2 separate regions of the Homo sapiens genome follow, and region 1 is linked to region 2. Evidence: promoter capture Hi-C in human tissues and cell types (Jung and others, 2019). All regions are on one chromosome and are shown on one strand. Each heading gives the region's core, a stretch centred on a gene start or on the middle of the fragment in contact. The rest is flanking DNA. Distances are from core to core; before and after follow the strand shown.

Region 1 (7,467 bases), core at 1,936-4,435, 470 kb after region 2:
ATGTGTGGTTGTCGGGGCCTTGGCTCATCTGAAAGAGGTGCCCCCACTCCTTTCTCTCTCCAGGGATGGAGACTGGTGGACGGTGCTGTCTGAAGTCTCAGGCAGAGAGTATAACATCCCCAGCGTCCACGTGGCCAAAGTCTCCCATGGGTGAGTTCCCACCCCAGGCCCGCCTTGCAGAGCTTCCTGCTTTCTCCTCCCACAAGAACTCCCCTTTGTGCACGGCTCTGCGCTGAGCAAAGCTGGGGATGGGGGAGAATCGAACCCAGGTCCTGCCCTCAAGAGGGGCAGACAGCTCATCCTAGCACAGGTTGGCCTGTGAGATGTGGGAGCCAGAGGAAGGGCTTGGGAAGGCCCACAGAGGAGGTGTGGAGCTCTGGGCTTTGGAGGTTGCCAGGATCTCGTGGTGGAAAATGCTGAAAAGTCCACGTAGGAGATGGCAGCATGTGGCGTGAGGGGCTGGCACAGTGGTGCGCACCTGTAGTCCCAGCTACTAGGGAGGCTGAGGTGGGAGGATCATCTGAGCCTGGAAGGTCAAGGCTGCAGTGAGCCGTGATTGCGCCACTGCACTCTAGTCTAGGCCACAGAGCAGGAGCCTGTCTCAGTAAAAAAAGAAAAAAACAGAGGGGCAGCTCTTGGAAAGCTGAGGCTTAGAAAGGTGAGTGGATAGAATCAGGGTGCTTTGGGGACTGAGCAGGGATAGCAGAGAGGCTGGGACCAACCCAGGTTACTTGGGGGAATGAGGTCTCCAGGCAGAGAAAGCTGAGGCTGTCCCCATGAGTTTGTCCTCCCAGGGCCCTGGAGCCAGGACTGGGAGGACAAAAATGGCATGGACCTCGGAGACCCTGAGCCCAGCTCTTCGTGGAGCAGATAGAACTCTGAGGCCCAGAGAGGGAGGGCCTTGTGAGGGTCACTCAGCGGTGGTGGTAAAATCTTGGCTTCCCTCTTCCTCCAGGCTGACCCTGTCCCTTGTCCCTCTCTTTCGCTCCGCCAGGTGGCTGTATGAGGGCCTGAGCAGGGAGAAAGCAGAGGAACTGCTGTTGTTACCTGGGAACCCTGGAGGGGCCTTCCTCATCCGGGAGAGCCAGACCAGGAGAGGTGAGTAAGCTCGGTGCCAGCCCAGGCCCTCCCTACGTGGAGGTCTCAGAAAGGAGCCCACAGATATATGGCTGCAGGTGCGGCCCAGAAAATAGGCTTTGCCTGACTTCTCAGTCAACCAAGATTTCCTGAGCCCCAGCTCCGTGTCCTGCCCATATGAACCATGTGGAGCCCAGGCTGGGGGAGATGGAGACAGGCCATGAAAGCAGAGGAGAGGCAGCTAACTTTGGAGCAATCAAGGGAGGCTTCATGGAGGAATAGACCATGAGTGGACCTGGAGGAGTGGACCTGGGATCCTGAGGGATGTTCCCACAGGATCCCAGGCAACAAGACACAGTGGTGCTGGGGTGGGCCAGTGGGCTGCACCTCGGGACAATAGGAGGTTAGAAGTGAGCAAGCTCCAGCACAGAGGCCTTGGATGCCGAGCTGAGAAGCTTTGGTTTTCTCCCAAGGCAGTGGGGTTGCTACTCAGCAGAGACACAGTGCTGGGCGTGTGTTTTGGGGGAAACGAGAGGATGCATTACAGGGACTCTCTGAGTGTGTTCTGTGGGCCACCTGCTTAGAAGTAGAGGAGATGGGGGGTCAGTTTAGGGGACCCCGAAAATCGTATCCTTCTCTGAGAGGTTCACAATCCGTGTTAACACAAGACTTCTTAAGGCGTCGCGTTTGCCTAACTGGGCATTTCCCAAGTGTTTCTGACACAGGAGTGTTTCATCATGCAGCACCAGTCAGAGTCACTCCATGTTCATTCATTCAGCAAATGCTTCTCCAGCACCTATGATGTGGGGAGGCTTCAGGGAAGGACAGGACCTACTGTATGTGTCAGGCCTTAGGCATCTCTGCTGAGTGAGGTGGCCATGGTCCCTGCTCTCAGGGAGCTCCTGGGTCACTGGAAGCCAGTGTTCCATGGCACAGAGTTTGGGAAACATACCTCTATTTGAGATCCACAGTGATGCCAGGGCTTGCCCCTCCAATGCCAAGAGCCAAGTGTGATATGACTTGAGGGTGGGGCAGAAGGCCAAATGTGAAGGGCTGGAGTTCCTAGCCTTGGTGTCTAGCAGTCTGGCTGTCATCTGCCATGTTGCTGCCATGAGAGCCTATCAGCAATAGAGCAAAAATCTGCATTTCTAAAAATAATACAGGCCGGGCACTGTGGCTCACACCTGTAATCCCAGCACTTTGGGAGGCTGAGGTGGGAGAATCACTTGTGCCCAGAAATTTGAGACCAGCCTAGCCAACATAATGAGACCACTTCTCTACAAAAAAATTTAAAATGTAGTGAGGCATGGTGGTGCATCCCTGTAGTCCGAGCTACTTCGGAGGCTGAAGTGGGAGGATCACTTAAGTCCAGGAGTTCCAGGGTGCAGTGAGCCATGATTGCACCACTGCACTCCAGCCTGGGCAACAGAGCCAGACTCCATTTCAAAAAATAAAAGTGAATGTGAATGGCCCACAGTAGGGATCTAGGCTCAGCCAACACATTGGCAACTAGGATTTTTAATAGAGTATAGTCACAGAATTTCTCTGCGTTGACTAGGAGGTGATTCCTCCTTCCCCAAGACACAACATGATTCTGATCTCTTGGCAAAACATTAAAATGGTGACAGGATCTCTTGGGTCAGTAGCCAGTCAGAGCTAGAAACCCACTGGAAGTCATCTCATGGATCCTCCTCGCTCCACTGTACAGACTGAAAAACTGGACCAAAGAGGAGTAGGAACGGGCCACATGCACATTCATGTGGGGCTTCTCCCACCCCAGGTGCAGGGTCTTTTGCAATCAAAACACAAAGTTGATTGTCTCTTTGATGACCCTGCCTCCCTCTGAGCTGCTGCCCCTGAGTCCTTTAAGGCAGAGGCAAAGAGGGATGTTGAAGGAGCAGCAGCCCCCACGTTTATGTTAAGCCCTTTAAGTGACTTAAAACAATGTATGGGGATTGTACTTCCATTGTCTTCATTTTACAGATGGAAAAACTGAGGCTTAGGGAAGAGAAATAATTTGCCTGGGGAAACACAGCTAGTAAGTGCAGAGCCAGGATTCAAACCCAGCCACACCTCCTCTCACTCCAGGCCCCCAAGAAAGGCCCACGTGGGGCAGTAATGTTGGCACTGCAAGCATAGCAACAGACCAGGGAAGGAGGTATCAGGAATGGACAGACCTCCTGGCGCCCGCCTTGATATGAACCAACTGTGATAGGCTGTCGGGACCCTTCGTTCTCTGCCTCAGTCTCCCTCCCAGGACCCTTTCCAGCTTCTTTGTCTCTCCTCTCCTGCCCTTGGGCGTTCTTGGGTTGACCTCTCTGAGGCCCCTCCTGCTATTTTCTAGGCAGCATCAGCACCCCCACCTCACATACATCCATAGGCTGGTAGAGGGGCTGGGGAGGCCAGCCCAGCACAGCAGCTGCAAACAGGAAACCACAGCAGCGTTGCGGAGTGGAGCAGGGCCCCACTGCAGACTGTCCCCTGGAGCTTCAGAAGCCACAGGAAGTGCTCAGTGCTCAGCTCCCCTCCCCTGGCCCATTCTCTGGCCTGGGTCAGCCCCAAGAATATAGTGGCTGGCCCTTATGGCCACTCTGCCCCTTACCTAAAAAGACACAGATGCAAAGAGAAAACTCTGTGAGTGAGAAGAGAAAGCCGTATGGAGACTTTTTTTTTTTTTTTGAGACAGAGTCTCACTGTGTCGCCCAGGCTGGCGTGAAGTGGCACATTTTGGCTCAGTGCAGCCTCTGCCTCCTGGGTTCAAGTGATTGTCATGCCTCAGCCTCCCTGGTAGCTGGGATTACAGGCGAGTGCTACCACACCGGGATAATTATTATACTTTTTTGAGACAGAGTCTCACTCTGTTGCCTATGCTGGAGTGCAGTGGTGCGATCTCGGTTCACTGCAACCTCCACGTCCTGGGTTCAAGCGAGTCTCCTGCTTCAACCTCCTGAGTAGCTGGGATGACAGGCACATGCCACCATGCCCAACTAATTTTTGTGTTTTTAGTAGAGACAGGGTTTCATCATGTTGGCCAGGCTGATCTCAAACTCCTGACCTCAGATGATCCACCCACCTCGGCCTCCCAAAGTGCTGGGATTACAGGAGTAAGGCACTGCACCGGACTATTTTTTTTTTTTTGTATTTTTAGTAGAAACGGGGTTTTGCCATGTTGGCCAGGCTGGTCTCAAACTCCTGACCCTCAGATAATCCGCCCACCTTGGCCTCCCAAAGTGCTAGGATACAGGCATGAGCCACCGCGCCCAGCGGGATCCATGAAGATCTTTAAAGACTCATAAGATCCACATAAGGCCTCACCTGAGGTCAGGAGTTTGAGACCAGCTTGGCCAACATGGCGAAACCCCATCTGTACTAAAAATACAAAAAAATTAGCCGGGCATGGTGGCAGGTGCCTGTAATCCCAGCTACTCAGGAGGCTAAGGCTAGAGAATTGCTTGAACCTGGAGGTGGAGGTTGCAGTGAGACGAGATCGCACCACTGCACTCCAGCCTGGGTGACAAAGCGAGACTATGTCTCAAAAAAAAAAAAAAAATCCTCATAATTACCGGGACTAAGGTCTCCAGGTCCCCATAGTCAATTCCAAAAGGAGATGGATCAGGATGCAGCTATTGTTATCAAAGAGGAAGATGAAAAATGTTAGTTGGGGGAGGAGAAAAGAAAGAAGAAATTTGCCAATTTTCCAGGAAAGGTAAAATTTTCCTGCGGGTCATGGTTGATTTGTGGGTCAAGAAATCAGTTTAGGGGCCAGGTGCAGTGTCTCACACCTGTAATCCCAGCACATTGTGAGGCCAAGGCAGGAGGATCACTTGAGTCCAGGAGTTCAAAACCAGTCTGGGCAACAAAGGGAGACCCCCATCTCTTAAAAAAAAAAAATTTTTTTTTAAGTTAGCTAGGTGTGGTGGCATGTGCGTGTTGTCTAAGCTACTTGGGAGGCTGAGGCAGGAGGATCACTTAAGCCCAAGAAGTCGATGCTGCAGTGAGCTATGATCACACCACTGGACTCCAGCCTGGGTGACAGACCAAGACCCTGTCTCAAATAAATAAATAAATTCAATAAATCAACACTGATGCCTGTACCCCACCTCCAGGGTTTCTGATCTCACTGGTCAGGGATGTGGCCTGCACACTGTAAAAGCTGCCCAGGTGATTCTGATGGGTAGCCAGGGTCGGAACCCACTAATTTAGTGCGTCTGGACCAGTGCGTGTTTGTAGTGAAATTGAGCAGAGAACATGACCATGGTTGGGGTAAACATTGCGTCATAAAACTTTTGTTTCAGATTTTGTATAAGGTGTGTCCTGCGTCACAGTGTAAACTTTTATACTGTGGTTTGACACCACAGTGACTCTAGGGGCCCAAGTGACGTCATAGAACAGTGGTTCTCAGACTTGAGTGTACAGGACTCATCAGGGGAACTTGTTGACACTGTAGACTTGTAGGCCCTACCGCAGACCTAACTGAATCAGACTTTTGGGGGCAGAGGTCAGAAATCTGCTTCTTGGACAGGCTCTCTGGATGGTTCTATTGTTCTCTTGAGTTTGAAAACAGAGTTCCAATCTAGGGAACCCAGAATGAAGTAATAAGAGACAATGTACTTTACATTATGCTCTTGTCGTATATAATGGGAATTAGCCATTGACCAAGTGAGTGAGTGATGCCAGGATCAGCTTTTCATTGGCCCAAAGGCACTGATTCCACACGAGCTTCAAGCCTGCATGTGGACCAAGGAGGAAGGCCTGGGGCCCTGAGCTACCAGGAACACTAATCAGAGTCCGGAGCAGGAAGACCCCATCTTCCCAAGTCCTTCTGGCATACCTGGCTATATGATAGGCCTCGGGACAGCCATGGCCAGGCTCTAGTCAGGCCCCAAATCTTGCTCCGTGAAGGGGGCCTAGAAGCTTTGTGGAGGTCACAGGATTGTGCAGAGGTCAGCACAGGGTTAGGGACAGGCCCCAGCAGCAGCCCCTCTGCGCTGTCCTGCTGTATATCTGTTCTGTGTCAGGCACTATAAGGGAGATTGATGAGCAAGACGTGGTTCCTGCCCCTGCAGGGCTCACCTCTGTCCACTGTCAGTTGGGAAACACTTACTGAGCATCTCCTCCGAGTCAGGCCTGCTAAGTCATGGCTTTTGTCCTCAGGGTGCAGACAGTGGAGGGTGCAACATTCAATCCCTAAAGCTTCTTAGAGGCCTCAGCAGAGAAGGTTCAGGAGGGTCCTGCTAGGCCCACTTCTCACATGCAGCTCCTTATCTGATCCCTCATCCCTCACTCCCAGCATCATCACTGGAATACCTGACCCCAGAGGTCCCGGAGGTGATGTTGCCTAAGCCTGCTGGAGCTTTCTGAAATTAGGACCTTATACTTGGCCTTTCTTTCTGGTGGGTCCTCCTCTAGGCTCCGCGTCCAGCCACAGCTTCCACTGTTCCCTCTGGACCCTCTGCCCACCAGCCACTCTGTAAACACCTTGTTCTTTCTACCGCTGCATCCTTACACATACCCCTCCCTCCATCTGGAAAGCCTGCCCTCCGCTTCTCCTCACGGCAAGCTCACACTCATCCTTCGCCATTCTTTCCAGTGGGACTTTCCCAGACTACCACCTACCCAGACTATCGCCTTCCCAGACTATCACCTACCCAGGCTATCGCCTTCCCATACTATGTCAATTTTTGTTCTCAACTCCCATAGCATCTTGAAAATACCTCTTCTGTAGCTATAATAGGTTTATCTCTTTTCTTTTCCTCTTTTTTTTTTTTTTTTTGAGATGGAGTCTTGCTGTCGCCCAGGCTGGAATGCAGTTGGCGGGATCTCGGCTCACTGCAAGCTCTGCCTCCCGGTTTCACGCCATTCTCCTGCCTCAGCCTCCCGAGTAGCTGGGACCACAGGCGGCTGCCACCACACCCGGCTAATTTTTTGTATTAGTAGAGATGGGGTTTCACCATGTTAGCCAGGATGGTCTCGATCTCCTGACCTTGTGATCTGCCCGTCTGGGCCTCCCAAAGTGCTGGGATTACAGGCATGAGCCACCGCGCCCAGACTTTTTTTTTTTTAAGACAGGGTCACCCAAGCTGGAGTGCGGTGGCACTATCTCGGCTCACTGCAACCTCCACCTCCCAGGCCCAAGCGATTCTCCCACCTCAGCCTCCTGAGTAGCTGGGACTACAGGTGAATGCTTCCACGCCCTGCGAATTTTTGTGTGTGTTTTTTTTTTTTTAGACGGAGTCTCGTTCTGTCATTGGGCTGGAGTGCAGTGGCACAATCTCGGCTCATTGCAACCTATGCCTCCTGGGTTCAAGCAATTCTCCTGCCTCAGCCTCCCGAGTAGCTAGGATTACAGGTGCGTGCCACCACGCCCAGCTAATTTTTGTATTTTTAGTA
Region 2 (6,859 bases), core at 2,268-4,767:
TCACAAGTATGACTACGGTAGGGTGAGAAAGGAGAGAGTAGCAAATGAAGGCAGAGTTAGACAGGGGACCACCAGACCCTTAGTGCCTTGTAGGCCAGGACAAGGAGCTTGGCTTAACCCTGAAAGAAATGGGGAGTCACTAGAACATTTTCAAACTTTTGGATTTTTGACAATTGAATAGATTAAAATATGGTTTTATACCGGTTTAAACTTGTATATATATTTTTCCTATTAGAAAGGTTGGGGCCGGGCACAGTGGTTCACGCCTGTAATCCCAGCACTTTGGGAGGCCGAGGCGGGTGGGATCACGAGGTCAAGAGATTGAGACCATTGTGCCAACATGGTGAAACCCCGTCTCTACTAAAAAGTACAAAAATTACCCTGGCGTTGTGGCACACGCCTATAGTCCCAGCTACTCGGGAGGCTGAGGCAGGAGAATTGCTTGATCCCAGGAGGCAGAGGTTGCAGTGAGCCGAGATCTCTCCATTGCACTCTAGCCTGGGCAACAAGAGTGAGACTCCGTCTCAATAAATAAATAAATAAATAAATAGAAAGAAAGAAAGTTGGGCATCTTTTCACATCTAAAAGCCATTTACATTTGCTTTTCTAAGATTGTATGCAAATCCTTTCCCCCTTCTGTGGGTAGAGAGGCTTTATTAATCTTTGTAATGCACTACTTCCACAGTGCAGAACCAGCTTAAAGATCACCACTTTAGTTTTTCCTCCAAGGAAAAAGAACATTAAGAATGGTGAGGTCCAGCTGGGCATGGTGGCTCACGCCTATAATCCCAGCATTTTGGGAGGCTGAGGCGGGTGCATCACCTGAGGTCAGGAGTTCAAGACCAGCCTGGCCATCATGGCGAAACCCCGTCTCTACTAAAAATGCAAAAAAAAAAGTTAGCCGGGCATGGTGGCGTGTGCCTGTAGTCCCAGGTACTTGGGGGGCTGAGGAAGGAGAATTGCTTGAACCTAGGAGGGAGAGGTTGCAGTGAGCTGAGATCTTGCCACTGCACTCCAGCCTGGGTGACAGAGTGAGACTCTGTCTCAAAAAAAAAAAAAAAGAATGGTGAGGTCAGGTCTTGCCCCTCCCCCACAAATATCAACTGCTTTTTTTTTTTTTTTTTTTTTTTTTAATAGAAGGTTAGACAAGCAGTTTGTCCTGAGAGGGGCAAGTGCAGACTGATTTTCTGCTTAGGGCATAGCAAAGCTGGAGGACAAAAAAAGAAAAAAAAATTTAAGAATTTCAAAATGAGACATCTTGGGAAAATTAGTTAGAACTTTCTTGTACTTTCTTACACTTATTTTGTGATTTAGAATTGCATATATTTTGAATTACATTTGGAAGGGTACACACTATAATCTTTTTAGTCTTGGAATCCCTAAAGGTCATAATCAGGTTCCAACCACATGCTTTGGGAGAACTCTGAAATATTAAACCACAACAGGGAGGCTAATCATAGAGGCTATCACACAATGGGATCAAAATAGAAACAACCTTCATGTGTATCTGGCTCAAAACTGAAGGGCAGAGTAAATCTATTTCACTACCCATACTTCATTTTCTTTTTTCTTTTTTTTTTTTTTTTTTTTGAGACGGAGTCTCGCTCTGTCACCAGGCTGGAGTGCAGTGGCACGATCTTGGCTTACTGCAACCTCCGCCTCCCAGGTTCCAGCGATTCTTCTACCTCAGCCTGCCAAGTAGCTGGGATTACAAGCGCCCGCCACCATGCCCAGCTAATTTTTGTATTTTTAGTAGAGACGGGGTTTCACCATGTTGGCCAGGATGATCTCGATCTCCTGATCTGGTGACCCGCCTGCCTCAGCCTCCCAAAGTGCTGGGATTACAGGTGTGAGCCACTGCAACCGGCCTTCCATACTTCATTTTCTATTCAGAAAAGCTCAATTTTGGGTTAAATGGGCATGTCCTGGGATAATAAGAAAAAATAAAACCAATATAAGGAAGGGCATATTGATTTTTGGTTTTTTTAAATGCATGCAGGTGAGGCTGGGTTTGACAGATGTGTCCTCAGTTGTTTGTTTTTGAGACAGAGTCTCACTCTGTTACCCAGACTGGAGTGCAGTGGTGCAATCTTGGCTTACTACAGCCTCTGCCTCCTCGGTTCAAGCGATTCTTTATTCTCATGTCTCAGTTGCCCAGGTTGTTAGGATTACACAAGTGCACCCACACGCCCAGCTAATTTTTATATTTTTAGTAGTGACGGGGTTTTGCCTTGTTGGCCTGACTGGTCTCAAACTCCTGGACTCAAGTGATCCACCTGCCTCGGCCTCCCAAAGTACTGGGATTACAGGCAAAGCAAATAATGGAACAACAAAAGAACGAAGACAGGGATTTATTGAAAACAAAAGTACACTCCATAGTGGGGAAGCGAACCCACGCAGCAGCTCAAGGGCCCAGACACAGAATCTTCTGGGGTCCAAATACCCTCTAGAAGTTTCCCATTGGCCACTTTATGCTCTCTTGATGTAACTGAAGTGGTAGCCCACAATCAGTCTGAGTGGTTGCAGAAAGCAACCAATCAGAGGCCAGGGTGAAGTTAACAAAATTATACTTCTATGCAAAGGAAGACTCTCCCGCCATCAGTCTGATTGGTTGTGGACAGCAACCGTTCAGAGGCTGGAGTGAAGTTACAAAGTTGCAAACAAAGACTGGAAGGCGCTCAGTGTGATTTGTTGCAGACAGCCAATTTCCCATCTGCCATGCAGAAAAGGTCCAAGGGAACAGCCTCTGGTTCTTTTGTTACTTAGGCGTGGAAAGTTGGGGTTTTCCTTTCAATTTAGTTCTAAGAAGTCACGTGAAACAGCCATAGGTTCCCTGCCTCCAGACCCTATTCTCCTGCCTCATTTACTGCAGTCTTCTCTGCCTGCCTCTTTTAGCGACTAGCATGAGATGAGGATTCGTCTTCTAATATCCGTCACCAATCCTTCCCCTCTGTCATTTAGCGAACCACTCACTGGGCACTAGGACTTTGGGGAGAGTCCCAAGAGGCCCCTCTTCGTCCAGGGGCTACTTTTTTCTCTTCCAGCCTCCATCTCCTAACTCAAGGGGTACAGCTCAGATTATGTTTGGCGCCCAGGGACAGTGACAAACCCAGGGCCCGTGGATAGAGGAGGCATCTCACTACGCTGCACGAGGCCACCTCGCAGTAGGCAGCCCAGCCCTGCCCCAAAACCCAAGAGCCTAACCAGGAAGACAGGGGGAGGCCGCGGGCTTCATCTCCCAAGAGATGGACTACACCTCCCAGCAGGCTCTGCGCGCGGGCTGAGGATCCCTCCGCTCTTTTTCTGTCCCGCCGGCTGGGCCCCCCGCGACCAGCCAAGGGCCAAGGACAGGTCTTTCAGAATCTGAGGTACATCTTCTTATCACATTTCCGGGGAGGGACTGCTAGGAGCTCCGGAGGAAAAACGGACTTTTTTTGAGGAGAAAAGCGGAGGCAGACGGTGGATGACAACACGTCCCGCAGCTGCAGATTTTCGCGCGCTTTGGCGCAGGTGGTTGTGGGTAGCGCGCCTGGGAGGGAGAAAGAAGTCGGGGGCCGTGGCGCGCAGCCCGCGGGGCCTGAAGGGATGTTCGAGGACAAGCCCCACGCTGAGGGGGCGGCGGTGGTCGCCGCAGCCGGGGAGGCGCTACAGGCCCTGTGCCAGGAGCTGAACCTGGACGAGGGGAGCGCGGCCGAAGCCCTGGACGACTTTACTGCCATCCGAGGCAACTACAGCCTAGAGGTGAGCGGCAGCAGGTGGGGCGGCCGGACCCTACCCTCGCCAGGCCCCACCCCTGCCCCGCCCCTTCCTCGGCCTATGGGGTGGTGGGAGTTTCCCCACCTAGGAGGGTCGCTGCGCAGCCAAGCGCCGAGGGGCGGGAAAGGTGGGTGTAGCTCAGCCAATCCACCCATCATTTTGAGGCGGGAAACTGAAGCTCAGGAAAGGAGCGGCCTAGGTCCCGCGCCGCTCAGACCCCAGGCTTCCTGACCACACTTCCCTCTACCCCGCCAAGCGCCACAAAAGTCATGGTGCTGCCCTTAAATCAGTAAGAACAAATATAATGGTAAAGTGAAAATGAACTGCATGCCAAGACATCACTGCCCAGAGCTTTAAATGGACCCTCAGTTCCGTCTGAACCCCTTCTGTGATCCCCATTTCACGCAAGAGGAAGCGGAGCCCTAGACGGGTTAAGCTACAGGCCCAAGGTCACACGGTTAGAGATGGAGCCAGACCCAGGGTCTGAGCCGTTTAACCTCCACCCTCTGCTTCACCAGGGTGGAGCTGCCGGTCGCTGTGCAGCAGTTTGATCAAAGCCAATGTGCACACGAAGCTGATCTCAGCCCTACGTTTCCTCCTCCGTCAGAGCATCGTCCTGATGCTTTGCATCAGTGTCTGGCTCTGAATAAAACAAATGTCAGTTATAATTACTTGATTTTTTTCCCCATCATTCTTGCATTTTATCCTCGCAACAGCCCTGTGAACATGGCATGGCAATGAGTATTAGACTGCTTTCCAGGTGATAATGGCAAGGCTCAGAAGGTTGTCTTGCCTAGGATTATTCTAATATAGAAACCCAGGCTGGGCGTGGCGGCTCACGCCTATAATCCCAGCACTTTGGGAGGCCAAGGCGGGCGGATCACTTGAGGCCAGGAGTTCGAGACTAACCTGGGCAACACGGCGAAACCCCATCTCTACTAAAAAAATACAAAAACTAGCTGGGTGTGGTGGCGCCTGCCTGTAATCTAGCTACTCGGGAGGCTGAGGCAGGAGAATTGCTTAAACCCAGGAGGCATAGGCCGCAGTGAGTGGAGATCACACCACTGCACTCCAGCCTGGGTGACAGCAAGACTCTATCTAAAAACAGAGAAAGAAACCCAGACGAGCATAAGCCCAGTGTAGACAGAATTGTGATGGAGTGTATTTCATGTAGCACCACTGGCCTCATGTTCAAAGGCTTTCATGTGCCAAGGGCGCTGGACCCACTCCCAGGGTGCACCACTGACTCACCACCCAGTGAAATAATTGCTGGGTTCAAAGGCATAGAGTTGGAAAAGTGTCGATTGTATGTGTGCCTATATATGAAGGAGTAGTACCTGAAAAAAGTGTCTTCAGAACTGGATAGACTGGGTAAAGGACAATGGTCCACATCCGTGGGTGGCATGACTGGAGAGCTGTGGGAAGAATAAGAAAGTAAGGGAGATTAGAATGAATGGCGTCTCAATTGAAAACAGATTGATTTTTGAAAGCCTGAGAAAGCATTTCTGACATCCTAGGTCTGATTTGGTCTCTCTTGCCCAAGGTCACACCATCTGTCATTGAATAAGCATTTACTGTGTCAAACTATGGTCAAGGCATGCACCTGTTTCAGATTCTTGAATATGACAAGTTTGTTCCCAGTTTTGTGGTATATCCATGCCATTCCCTCTGCCTGGAATATTTCCCCTCACCCCCAACACCAGGAAAAGTTGAGAGCTAAATCTCTAGTTAGGCAGAGTTGAATAGGACATCTTCAATGTTTGCTCTACTTATTTATTTTTTCTTTCTTTTTTTCTTCCTTAGAAACAGGGTCTTGGCCGGGCGCACGGTGGCTCACACCTGTAATCCCACCACTTTGGGAGGCTGAGGTGGGCAGATCACCTTAGGTCAGGGGTCCAAGACCAGCCTGGCCAGCATGGTGAAACCCCGTCTCTACTAAAAATATAAAATTAGCTGAGCATGGTGACGTGCACTTGTAATCCCAGCTACTCAGGAGGCTGAGGCAGGAGAATCTCTTGAAACCAGGAGGTAGAGGTTGCAGTGAGCCAAGATCACGCCATTGCACTCCACCCTGCACAAGAGTGTAACTCCATCTCAAAAAAAAAAAAAAAATGGAAAGAAACAGGGTCTTGCTCTTTTGACCAGGCCTGGAATGCAGTGGTGCAATTATAGCTCACTGTAAACTCAAACTTCTGTGCTCAAGTGATGTTCCTGCTTCAGCCTCCCCAGTAGCTGGGACTATAGGCATGCACCACGGTGCTCAGCTAATTTTTCAATTTTTTGTGGAGATAGTATCTGACTATGTTGCCCAAGCTGGTCTTGAACTGGCCTCAAGTGATTTTTCTGCCGCAGCCTCCCAGAGCATTGGGATTACAAGCATGAGCCACCGAGCCCAGCCCAATGCTTGCTTTAGAAAGCACAAATGTATGAACTGAAATTTTGTGTTTATTCTATCCAGTGTTTATTTTCCTCTTTTTTTAAAATCAATTTTTTAAAGGTATTTGGAGTAGTCATTTTCATATATCTCATGCTTCCTAAGAAGTCTTTCTCCAATCCCTACCCCTCTCTAGTCTACCTGACAAACTCCTGCTTACATTTTTATTGATTTACAAATTTTGTCTCCTTTTGTGAGGCCTTCCCTAAACTGTAGTCAAAATCAGTTATTCACTGCACTATATTCTCCTACAACACTTTATCTTCAGTTCTTCTTATAGCTTGTATATCTCACCAATTATAAATGATAGTATCTGTTCCTCTTCTTAGCTCCAGATGTGAAGTTCTGTGAGATCAGAAAACATTTTTTGTATTTCTAAGGCCTGGCAAGTAGGCCTTAGAAATGCAAAAAATGGTTTCTGATATCATAGAATTCATAGAATTTTTATGAAATAGGATTTTATCAAATAGAATTGTATTCTATTTTATTCTCATGGAATAAAATAGTTGACTTTTTTAAGGAAAGAAAGTCAGGCCAGGCACAGTGGCTCACACCTATAATCCCAGCACTTTGGGAGGCTGAGGCAGGAGGATCACTTGAGCCCAGAAGTTCAAGACCAGCCTGGGCAACATAGTGAGACCCTATCTCTACACAAAATAAAATAGGCTG

Evidence for each region. The method cuts DNA at HindIII sites, captures the fragments that hold promoters and counts their contacts. A contact is called where the count stands out against the background at its distance.
Region 1: a contact is called between a fragment that was not itself captured here and the fragment with the promoter of RBL1 in region 2, in 1 of the 25 tissues and cell types used here (small bowel).

Annotation. Positions count from the first base shown.
Region 1 is chr20:36,626,226-36,633,692 of GRCh38, reverse strand. It overlaps SLA2 (Src like adaptor 2), which reads left to right. Exons shown (of 8, transcript NM_032214.4): 4 at 64-150; 5 at 995-1,098. Among named protein-coding and RNA genes, the nearest start is that of SLA2, 16 kb to the left of the region's middle. RefSeq lists enhancers at 166-667, 3,347-3,456. The HindIII fragment of the contact is 5,892 bases long and covers 240-6,131 here.
Region 2 is chr20:37,092,655-37,099,513 of GRCh38, reverse strand. It overlaps RBL1 (RB transcriptional corepressor like 1), which reads left to right and starts at 3,517. Exons shown (of 22, transcript NM_002895.5): 1 at 3,517-3,741. The coding sequence starts at 3,586. RefSeq lists enhancers at 3,059-3,108, 3,229-3,498, 3,149-3,825, 4,059-4,158 and a silencer at 3,729-3,788. The HindIII fragment of the contact is 15,633 bases long and covers 1-6,859 here.